Linked DNA regions of Homo sapiens: all the other regions are linked to region 1. Evidence: promoter capture Hi-C in human tissues and cell types (Jung and others, 2019). All regions are on one chromosome and are shown on one strand. Each heading gives the region's core, a stretch centred on a gene start or on the middle of the fragment in contact. The rest is flanking DNA. Distances are from core to core; before and after follow the strand shown. Region 1 holds the start of SLC10A2 (solute carrier family 10 member 2). Region 2 has its middle 96 kb from the start of SLC10A2. Region 3 has its middle 78 kb from the start of SLC10A2.

Region 1 (3,470 bases), core at 640-3,139:
TGTTGGGGTGGGGAAGGAGGTGGGAAAGACAGAAGGCTCTCCCAGGAATTGGCAGGCAGCCAGGTCAGGGACAATGGCAGCCCCCACTTGTGCTAGAAAGGCAGGCAGGACGTGACCACTCAGATAGCCACATCAACAAGTACAAATCACGGTTGCCCTGGAAGGAAATGGCTCAGGTTTTTCCCAGTAGCTCAATGCCTAGGCACCCCCACCTGTGGTTTGGGCATTTCACTCTATTAGCTCTTCTGCTCAGTGGCCCATTCTGCTAGCCACAGCTCACATTTACTCCAGTTATGAAAAAGGTTAATTTTCCCATATTGAGTTTCTCTGCAAAAGCTGCTTTCAGTTGTGACCGGTAAGTTCCGTTGTCACCAATATGGGTACAACTGTTGTCACTCTGCTATTCTGAAGCCATGATACTAAAAGTGTGACCCCAGATCAGTGTCATCGCCATCAACTACAAGCTTGCTAGAAAGAAAACTCTCCCTAGACTTCCAGAATCAGAATTTGCATTTTAACAAGGCCCCCAGGGGAATCCTGTTCACACTGAGTTTTGAGAAGCTCTGTTCTAAGATATTACTCCAATCCCCAGCAAGCCAAACCGACCACTTTCTTCACATAATCAGAACGCTCGGTTCCAGTATTTCCAGATACCAGCCATAGGAAAACACGTTGTTCTCTCATTTCCCTTTAACCTTATCTAAAGCACTCAATTTCCTCAACCCTTAAGTCGTCATCTGTAAAATGGGAGTGCTAATCCTACTTAATTTAAGATGATTAAGTTGAATAATAAATTAGAATTTGTCCTACAAATTGTGAATCATGATCGGAATATTCAATTTTATTATTACTCTGTGTCCTAACTCAATAACTGGGTTATAAACTCCTGAAAACAGGACAATCTCTTCTCTACCTCTTTCTTTATCTTCCCTGTATACTGAAATACAGCGTTCTGCCCAGCATGAGGTCGACTATTTGACATTTACAAAAATCTCTCTTGGAATCCCCCTGCCAAAAAAAAAAAAATCGAATTTCAATTTATGACTCCAAGCACAAAGAGATCCTGTCACTTTGACCTAATTCTCTGAGGTTCATCCCTCTAAATAATTGTATTGTCTCCATCTATAAAGTACTCTGTTACTATGACAACGCACACATAATTGCATGTGTAAGTAGTTGAGGGTGGCTGTGCAAGTCAGACTCCTTTCCACCAGGAAACACAGAAAACATTCTATCTTCCCAAATGTTACTCTCTCAGATTTGCACCAAGACCCTAGAAGTTTCTTAAATTTCCATATACTTTATGGACACTACAAAGCAATTCCAGGAAACACTGATACAGTAGCAAAACTACTGGGAGTGGAAATTGGATGGAGATCTGGGTCCCAGTTCAGAGTCTGACACCTGATTTGCAACATAATTAGGCACAGGGCACTCAACTATTCAGGGCCCTAAACCCTTCTATTGAAAGGGAAATGGGAGAACAATATGTGTTCCTATGGCTCAGTCCCTATAAGATTCTGTACTATTCAGAGTTGATTTTAAGTGTCACTTAACTGAAATTATCCAACAAACCTTCATGGCATGAAACATTAACACAGCTCTTTTTATATGGCATGGTTCCTATGGCTCAATCCCTATAAGATTCTGTACTATTCAGAGTTGATTTTAAAAGTCACTTAACTGAAATTATCCAACAAACCCTCGAGGACATTAAACATTAACGTGGCTCTTTTTATATGGCATGGTTCATTATCATGCCAATAAATGATTAATCGTAACTCTCTGTCTTGACCAATAATTTTGCTGGACTTTTGTGATTCACAACGTGCTCTGTGTTGTAATGCTACCTCTTGAAACTGACATCCTAGCTTTATTGTTTTTTATTACTTCCCTAAGGTGGCTTTCAAAAGAGACACCAAGTGACATATTTTTAGGAGGGGTTTAAAAGTTTGATGGGGTAGAAGTAAACGTTGCTTAACTCAACCAGCAGCAGAGCCAGGGCCCAGGGACCAGCGCTTCTGTGGACTTGGCCTTTCCAGCAGCAGACCCAGCAATGAATGATCCGAACAGCTGTGTGGACAATGCAACAGTTTGCTCTGGTGCATCCTGTGTGGTACCTGAGAGCAATTTCAATAACATCCTAAGTGTGGTCCTAAGTACGGTGCTGACCATCCTGTTGGCCTTGGTGATGTTCTCCATGGGATGCAACGTGGAAATCAAGAAATTTCTAGGGCACATAAAGCGGCCGTGGGGCATTTGTGTTGGCTTCCTCTGTCAGTTTGGAATCATGCCCCTCACAGGATTCATCCTGTCGGTGGCCTTTGACATCCTCCCGCTCCAGGCCGTAGTGGTGCTCATTATAGGATGCTGCCCTGGAGGAACTGCCTCCAATATCTTGGCCTATTGGGTCGATGGCGACATGGACCTGAGGTAAGATTATCTATACCTCTAACTACTGCAATCACCTTGGAGTAATCCTTCCAGAAGCCTATGGCATTCTGAATGTCCAACTGATTTGCCACGCATCTAAAGTATGACTAAGGAATCAAACAGGAGAGAATAAATGCATTCCCGTGCCTTCTAGCACAGCTGCTTAGCTATTGGAATTGGGGGATTTATATTTTGTGTTTGTGTTTTTAAATCTAACTCAGTTAACAGGGAGTTGCATAATTGCTGTTGATCTCTAGGAAAAGATTCAAAGCTTTTTTAAAAAAGTAATCTTTTCCAAACCACAAGCTGCAGCTGAGGAGGTTTATCCTGTTGGTAGCAGGAAAAAAAAAGCAAAATACACTTTCTTTGTAATGATGAGGAGCTCTGGGTGCAATCATAAAATAAAACTGTTTGTCAAACATTAGAACCTGTAGTGAGACAGTGGTCAACTCCATCAAATATAGCCAGTTCTTTGGGCAAACATTTTCCTGGTATAAAACCTAAGGAAGAATTTGTAAATTTGCTTCACCTCTACTGGCATTAAAAGTGGGGGAAAAAGCCTATAGCAGCTTTTTTAAAATTATGCTTACCTTACTACAAAATAAACAGAAAACGTTTTCTCCACTTCCTACAGAGTAATCTAAATTGCAATGTTTGCCCATTTCATCCCGTGCCAGTCTGAACTAGCACTGGAAAAAAAAACTAATAGAAATAAGATGAAGCATTAATGTGACTAGATTGAGAAATTTAATGCTAAAAGTTGAATAGACAAATGTCTTTTTCCTTAGCTCACAATTCCTCATTTCCCTTGAAAGGTATGCATTTCCTTCTGCAAACCATCCAGGTGCTAATGCAACGTGTGCTTATTAAATACTGTACAGTAGGCAATTAGCTCTGTTCATCCCCAGCTACTATTGGCAGAGGAGAGAAGCACAAAGTGTAGAATTGTAAACACTGGATTGATAGAGTACCCAGTGATCAATTAGGAACCTGCTGTCTCATTTCAACTGGTGCTGGTTTCTCCAGAAGCTTTAGAA
Region 2 (3,470 bases), core at 474-2,973, 96 kb after region 1:
TATAAAGAAAATGTGGTATATACACACCACAGAATACTACTCAGCCTTTAAAAGGAATGAAATAATGTCTTTTGCAGCAACTCAGATGGAGCTGGAGGCCATTATTCTAAGTGAAGTAACACAGGAATGGAAAACCAAAACCATATGTTCTCACTTAGCTCTCACAAGTGGGAGCTAAGCTATGAGTATGCAGAGACAAACAGAGTGATATTATGGACTTTAGAGACTCAGAAAGGAGAGGATGGGAGGAGGGCTAGGGATAAAAACTACACATTAGGTACAATGTACACTACTCAAGTGATGAGTGCACTAAAATCTCAGATTTCACCGTTATATAATTCATCCATATAACAAAAAAACACACGGACCCCAAAAGCTATTGAAATAAAACAACAAAAAGAAAAAAAAGAAAAGCTTGCCCAGGTAGTGACTAAGATGGTCTGCAACTTTTTCCATCAGAGCTTGGAGACAACGAAGGAAGCAGAGTAACACTGATCAAATCATTCCATAATCTCCAATGCATGAGCTCAGTTCCAACAATACTGTGACCTTCCGGGCTATTCTCCAAACTTTAAAATACTGCTACTCATCTACAAATGGAGATTCTAATACATACCTTCCAGGATTGTTGTGAGGATTAAATGAACGTGAAGCTTAGCACCAGGGCTGGCAGGCAAGAAAGGCTCAATGGATAAATGTTGCTGTTATTACTGTCGCATCTGTAATTTTTTTACTCTTTAGTACTTAGCAATAAATTGATTTTATGGTAAACATGTATATTTGGCCACAATCATTTTCTTCCATGCATCCAAAGCATACAAAAATTTATTATTTGGCAAAAAGTAAATAAATAAAGCTTTTATTTATTTATTTATTTTGAGATGGAGTCTCGCTCTGTCTCCCAGGCTGGAGGGTAGTGGCGTAATCTTCACTCACTGCAACCTCCCACTCCAGGGTTCAAGCGATTCTCCTGCTTCAGCCTCCTGAGAAGCTGGGATTACAGGCGCCCACCACCATGCCCAGCTAATTTTTGTGTTTTTAGTGGAGACGATTTCACCATGTTGGCCAGGCTGGTCTCAAACTCCTGACCTTGGGTGATCCGCCTGCCTCAGCCTCCCAAAGTGCTGGGATTACAGATGTGAGCCACCACACCCAGGCAAAATAAATCTTTTAATTCAGTGACTCTAAATAAGACCTCTCTCAAAGAGTATATGTTGAATGCCTCCTGCAATCCAGGCACTGTGCTAGGCTGAAAGATTAAAATCCCAGGTGATCCGGCCAGGCGCAGTGGCTCATGCCTGTAATCCTAGCACTTTGGGAGGCCGAGGCGGGTGGATCACCTGAGGTCAGGAGATCGAGACCAGCCTGGCCAACATGATGAAACCCTTTCTCTACTAAAAATACAAAAACTAGCTGGGGGTGGTGGGCGCCTGTAATCCCAGCTACTCGGGAGGCTGAGGTAGCAGAATCACTTGAAGCTGGGAGGCGGAAGTTGCAATGACCCGAGATTGCGCCATTGCACTCCAGCCATTTGGTACTGAGTCCAGCCATTGCACTCAGTACCAAAAAAAAAAAAAAAAAAAAAAAAAAAAAAATCCCAGGTTATCCAAGTCAGCATCAGTTGATGCAAGTTTTTCTGTGGCAATAGAAGGATGAATATTGAGTGATTCCACTTATGTGGGGGATCTGAAATAGTCAAACTCATAGAAACAGAAAGTAAAATGGCAGTTGCCAGAAACTACAAGAAAGGGAAACAGAGAGTTACTGTTCCACAAGTGTAAAGTTCCCACAGTTACAAAGGTGAACACCTGCTGCTCAGCAAGTATAAGCTCTAGAGATCTGCTACGCAATATTTCACCTATGTGTCAAGTGGGTCCATCTCATGTTAAGTGCTCTTTCTCACCAAGATGAAATAAGTAAATTGCTCTTAAAGATGACCTGTGGCTAAGGATGTTCTGAGACTGAAGAACAAGCAGCCTAGGCGAAGTCAACTCACAACTTCAGAGGCCTTGCCAGTCCAACTCTAGACAAAAATAAAAAAGTAAATAAATGAAGCTTTCAATTTAGCAAGACTAAGAAGGTCTCTCTCAAAATGATACAGGTGTACTCCAAGTAAATGTAGGCCAAACAGGAATGTAATAAGTCAATCACGGAGAACCTATCAGCAACTGAAAGTCAAGAAGATAAAAATATAAATTCACATAATGGAAAGAGAGCGTCAGGCAACACTAAGCAATTAGGACTGATGGTTATTCTATTGCCAAAGATCTCAAAAGATAAAAGCATGGTCTAGTCCTCGGTTTCCTCACAGAGGCCCAGATCTACTCACTTTTTTTCACCCATGCTGCTCCCAGTGTCTTTCAAAGCACGTTTGGCTCAAACATATACACATTTGCAAGCTTGCCAAGGCCTTCGAGTACACATGGATGTTCTAAATGATAAACCAGTGCCAGTATTAGCTTTAACTAACACTGAACGCTTTGGGAAAAGTAATGCATGACTAGCTTATGTGGTCTTTAATACTGTTTATTGTCTGCCCCTTTTTGACATCATTCCCTAAAAGAGCCCAATTTAATTCACAACAAAAAGTTGCTATGTGCCATACCAGGTTCTCCTTATAATTATTCATAACATTTTAGGATAATTTTTATGGCTTTTATGACTGCACTAGCCTTCTCAACCTCTCACTTTTACATTTTGAACATTGGCACAAATTTTAAATCTATTGAACCACCCATGGCTTCCCACAGCATTGCATTATAAGCATTATATTTTCGCTCTCTATCTTCCTTGTTTGAATCATCATTTGAATACATAGTATACATTTTTAAATTTCATCCTTTATCTGCATTATCGCTAACTTTTCATTTAGATCCTGCTTTTGTAAGTACTCAAAAAAATCCATAGTGCTATCACAGCAGGTGCTATTTATGAAATGTAAACATTACCAACAATGCAAAAATGAAATTTAATTGTGAGTTGTATGATTTTGTAAGTACCAGGCCAAAAGCTAGACACTTTACATGTATTATCTCATTTAATCTTTAGTAAAATCTTAAGAGACTCCAGTATCATCATCACACCCACTTTACAGAAGATAAACTGAGCTGGAAGACAGTAAGTAATCTGACAAGGTCACATAGCAAAGAGGAGACAAAACTCAGAATCCATCTGTCTAGCTCCAAAACCTAGACTCTTAAGCATTGCACCATGTGCAGAAAACATTATGTGCTCTTTTGTGCTTGCGCTTTTGTTCAAAATACTTTTCAATGTTGAAGTAGCCAAATAAAATCCACATACAATGGAATAAAGGCTTTGGCATTTTTAAGAACCTTTAAACTTTCATTTTTTTTCTTCTAATGTACCCCCTTGCTATTACCTGGTTTATTCAGTCACAGTTAGAATGCAATAAATGGAGTAACAACACAAACAATACTGAAATAGCACACGTAGCCTAGCAAAAATCCATA
Region 3 (3,470 bases), core at 349-2,848, 78 kb after region 1:
AAATTAAAATTATTTGCACTTAAAATGACATCACTAAGAAAGTGAAATGACAAGCCACAGACTAGGATATCCTGAAAATCATACATACGGCAAAGAACTTTTATCCAGAATAAAGAACTCATGTCACTGAAATATAAGAAACCAGATATATATTTAGTCAAATAAGTAATGCTGAAATGAATTTATAAAAAGTGCAAGACTTAGCTGGGTGTGAGTGACTCTCATACCTGTAATCCCAGCCCTTTGAGAGACCAAGGTGGGGGGGATTGCTTGAGGCCAGGAGTTCAAGACCAGCCCGGGCAACATCACAAGACCCAATCTTTACAATGAAAATGAAAATAAAATTAGCCAGGCATGTTGTTAGGTGCCTGTAGTCCCAGCTACTCAAGAGGCTAAGGCAGGAGGATCACTTAAGCCCAAGAGTTTGAAGCTTCAGTGAGCTATGATCACCACTGAGTCCCATCCTAGGTGACAGAGTGAGACCCTATCTCTGAAAAAAAAGGAAAAAAAATTGCAAAACTGCCAATAGTCACAGGGACAATAATTAATTAATTAATTACACCAAACACAATTTGTATTTCTCTTGAAAGGAATTTTTTCTCCATCTTTATCAGGTTTCTATAAGTTAACTTTCATCTCCAAAGGTTTGTAAGACTCTTAGTAGTATGGTTTGGCTGTGTCCCCACCCAAATCTCACTTGAATTGTAGTTCCCATAATCCCCCCATGTGGTGGGAGGGAACTGGTGGGAGGTAATTGAATCGCGAGGGTGCTATTCTCATGATAGTAAGTTTTCACAAGATCTAGTGATTTTATAAGGGGCTACCCTTTGCTCATCTCTCACTTTTTTCCTTCCTGCCATCATGTGAAGAACATGTTTGCTTTTCCTACTGCCATGATTGTGAGTTTCCTGAGGCCTTACCAACTTTGTGGAACTGTGAGTCAATTAAACCTCCTTCCTTTATAAATTACCCAGCCTTGGGCAGTTCTTCATAGCAGCATGAAAATGGACTAATATAGTAAGTTGATACTGCAGAGAGTGGGGTGCTGCTATAAGGATACCTGAAAATGTGGAAGCAACTTTGGAACTGGGTAACAGGCAGAGGTTGGAACAGTTTGGAGGGCTCAGAAGAAGACAAGAAAATGTGGAAAAGTTGGAAGCTTCCTTGAGACTTGGAGAGTTCAGAAGACAGGAAGATGTCAGAAAGCTAGAAACTTTCTAGAGACTCGTTGAAAGGCTTTGACCAAAATGCTGATAGTAATATGGACAATGAAGTCCAGGCTGAAGTGGTCTCAGGTGGAGATGAGAAACTTGTTGGGAACTGGAGTAAAGGCCACGCTTGCTATGCTTTAACAAAGAGACTGGTGGCTTTTTGCCCCTGTCCTAGAGATCTGTGGAACTTTGAACTTGAAAGAGGTGATTTCGAATATCTGGTGGAATAAATTTCTAAGCAGCAAAACATTCAAGAGGTGACAGAGCAAACAAGTTTAGAAAATTTGCAGCTGATGCAGTAGAGAAGAAAAACCCATTTTCTGGGGAGAAATTCAAGCTGGCTGCATAAATTTGCAGAAGTAATGATGAGCCAAATGTTAATCACCAAGACAATGGGGAAAATGTCTCCAGGGTATGTCAGAGACCTTCACAGCAGCCCCTCCCGTCACAGGCCTGGAGGCCTAGGAGGGAAAAATGGTTTCCTGAGTCAGACCCAGAGCCCCCCTGCTCTGTGCAGCTTTGGGAATATGTGCAGCCTTGGGACATGGTGCCCTGAATCCCAGCTGCTTCGGCCCCAGCTGTAGCTCAGGTTATTGCTTCAGAGGGCGCAAACCCCAAGCCTTGGCAACTTCCACATGGTGTTTTATCTGCATGTGTGCAGAAGTCAAGAATTGAGATTTGGGAACCTCTGCCTAGATTTCAGCGGATACACAGAAATGCCTGGATGTCCAGGCAGAAGTCTGCTGCAGGGGCAGAGCCCTCATAGAGAACCTCTGCTAGGGCAGTGGGGAAAAGAAATGTAGGATTGGAGTCCCCTAACAGAGTCCCCACTGGGGCACTGCCTAGAGGAGTTGTGAGAAGAGGGCCACTGTCCTCCAGACTCCAGTATGGAAGATCCTCCAAGAGCTTGCACCATGCACCTGGAAAAGCCAAAGACACTCAACACTAGCCAATGAAAGCAGCCAGGAGGGAGGCTGTACCCTGCAAAGCCACAGGGGCAGAGCTTTCCAAGGTCACGGGAGCCCCCCTCTTGCATCAGCGTGACCTGGATGTGAGTCATGGAGTCAAAGGAGATCATTTTGGAACTTTAAGGTTTAATGACTGCCCTATTGGATTTTGGATTTGCATCAGACCTGTAGCCCCTTTGTTTTGGCCAATTTCTCCCATCTGGAAAGGGTGTATTTACCCAATGCCTGTACCACCATTGTATCTAGGAAGTAACTAACTTCCTTTTGATTTTACAGGCTCATAGGCAGAAGGGACCTGTCTTGTCTCAGCTGAGATTTTGGACTTGGACTTTGGGTTAATGCTAGAATAAGCTAAGACTTTGGGGGACCGTTGGAAAGGCATGATTGTGTTTTGAAATGTGAGGGCATGAGATTTGGGAGGGGCCAGGGACGGTATGATATGGTTTGGCTGTGTGCCCACTCAAATCTCATCTTGAATTATAGTTCCCATAATCCCCACATGTGGTAGGAGGCAACTGGTGGGAGATAAATGAATCATGGAGGCAGTTTCCCTCATGCTATACTCATGATAGTAAGCTCTCAGAAGATTTGATGGCTTTATAAGGGACTTCCCCCTTCATTCATCTTTCATTCTTTTCCTTCCTGCCAAGTGAAGAAGGATGTGTTTGCTTCCTCTTCTGCCATGACTGTAAGTTTCCTGAGGCCTCCCCCGCCCTGCACAACTGTCAGTCAATTAAACCTCTTTCCTTTATAAATTACTCAGTCTCAGGCAGTTCTTTACAGCAGTGTGAGAGCAGACTAACACACTTAGCCAAAGGCAAATACAAGCAGAGAAACTCAGATGGAGAGTAGACCAAGACACCCGCTAAATTTCAAAGTCTCTTACAATCTTTTATACAACCTTATGAGACTCTTATGGCAAAAATATTACTTAAACATTGAATATGTCCAAAGGAAATTTACTTGTTGTTGAACATTTTCCCAAGGTTTTCTCAATATTAAAAAATGCCCATTGTGGTAGGTTGGATAAAGAAAATGTGGTACATACACACCATGGAATACTATGCAGCCATTAAAAAAGAATGAGATCATGTTCTTTGCAGGAACACAGTTGGAGATGGAGGCCATTAACCTTAGCAAACTAACGTAGGAACATAAAATCAAATACTGCATGTTCTCACTTAAAAGTAGAAGCTATATGATGAGAACACATGGACGTATACAGGAGAAGAGTACACAATGAGGCCTATTGGAGAGTAGAGGATGGAAGCTGGGAAGAGGGAAAGGATCA

What was found. Contacts are between HindIII fragments. The study calls those that stand out against the background at their distance.
Region 2: a contact is called between a fragment that was not itself captured here and the fragment with the promoter of SLC10A2 in region 1, in 3 of the 25 tissues and cell types used here (adrenal gland, lymphoblastoid cells and mesenchymal stem cells).
Region 3: a fragment that was not itself captured here is called in contact with the fragment with the promoter of SLC10A2 in region 1 in 2 of the 25 tissues and cell types used here (H1 embryonic stem cells and dorsolateral prefrontal cortex).

What each region holds. Positions count from the first base shown.
Region 1 is chr13:103,064,836-103,068,305 of GRCh38, reverse strand. It overlaps SLC10A2 (solute carrier family 10 member 2), which reads left to right and starts at 1,889. Exons shown (of 6, transcript NM_000452.3): 1 at 1,889-2,433. The coding sequence starts at 2,057. The HindIII fragment of the contact is 6,207 bases long and covers 1-3,083 here.
Region 2 is chr13:102,969,078-102,972,547 of GRCh38, reverse strand. No RefSeq gene overlaps it. Among named protein-coding and RNA genes, the nearest start is that of SLC10A2, 96 kb to the left of the region's middle. RefSeq lists an enhancer at 1,645-1,844. The HindIII fragment of the contact is 3,080 bases long and covers 184-3,263 here.
Region 3 is chr13:102,986,312-102,989,781 of GRCh38, reverse strand. No RefSeq gene overlaps it. Among named protein-coding and RNA genes, the nearest start is that of SLC10A2, 78 kb to the left of the region's middle. The HindIII fragment of the contact is 3,278 bases long and covers 1-3,237 here.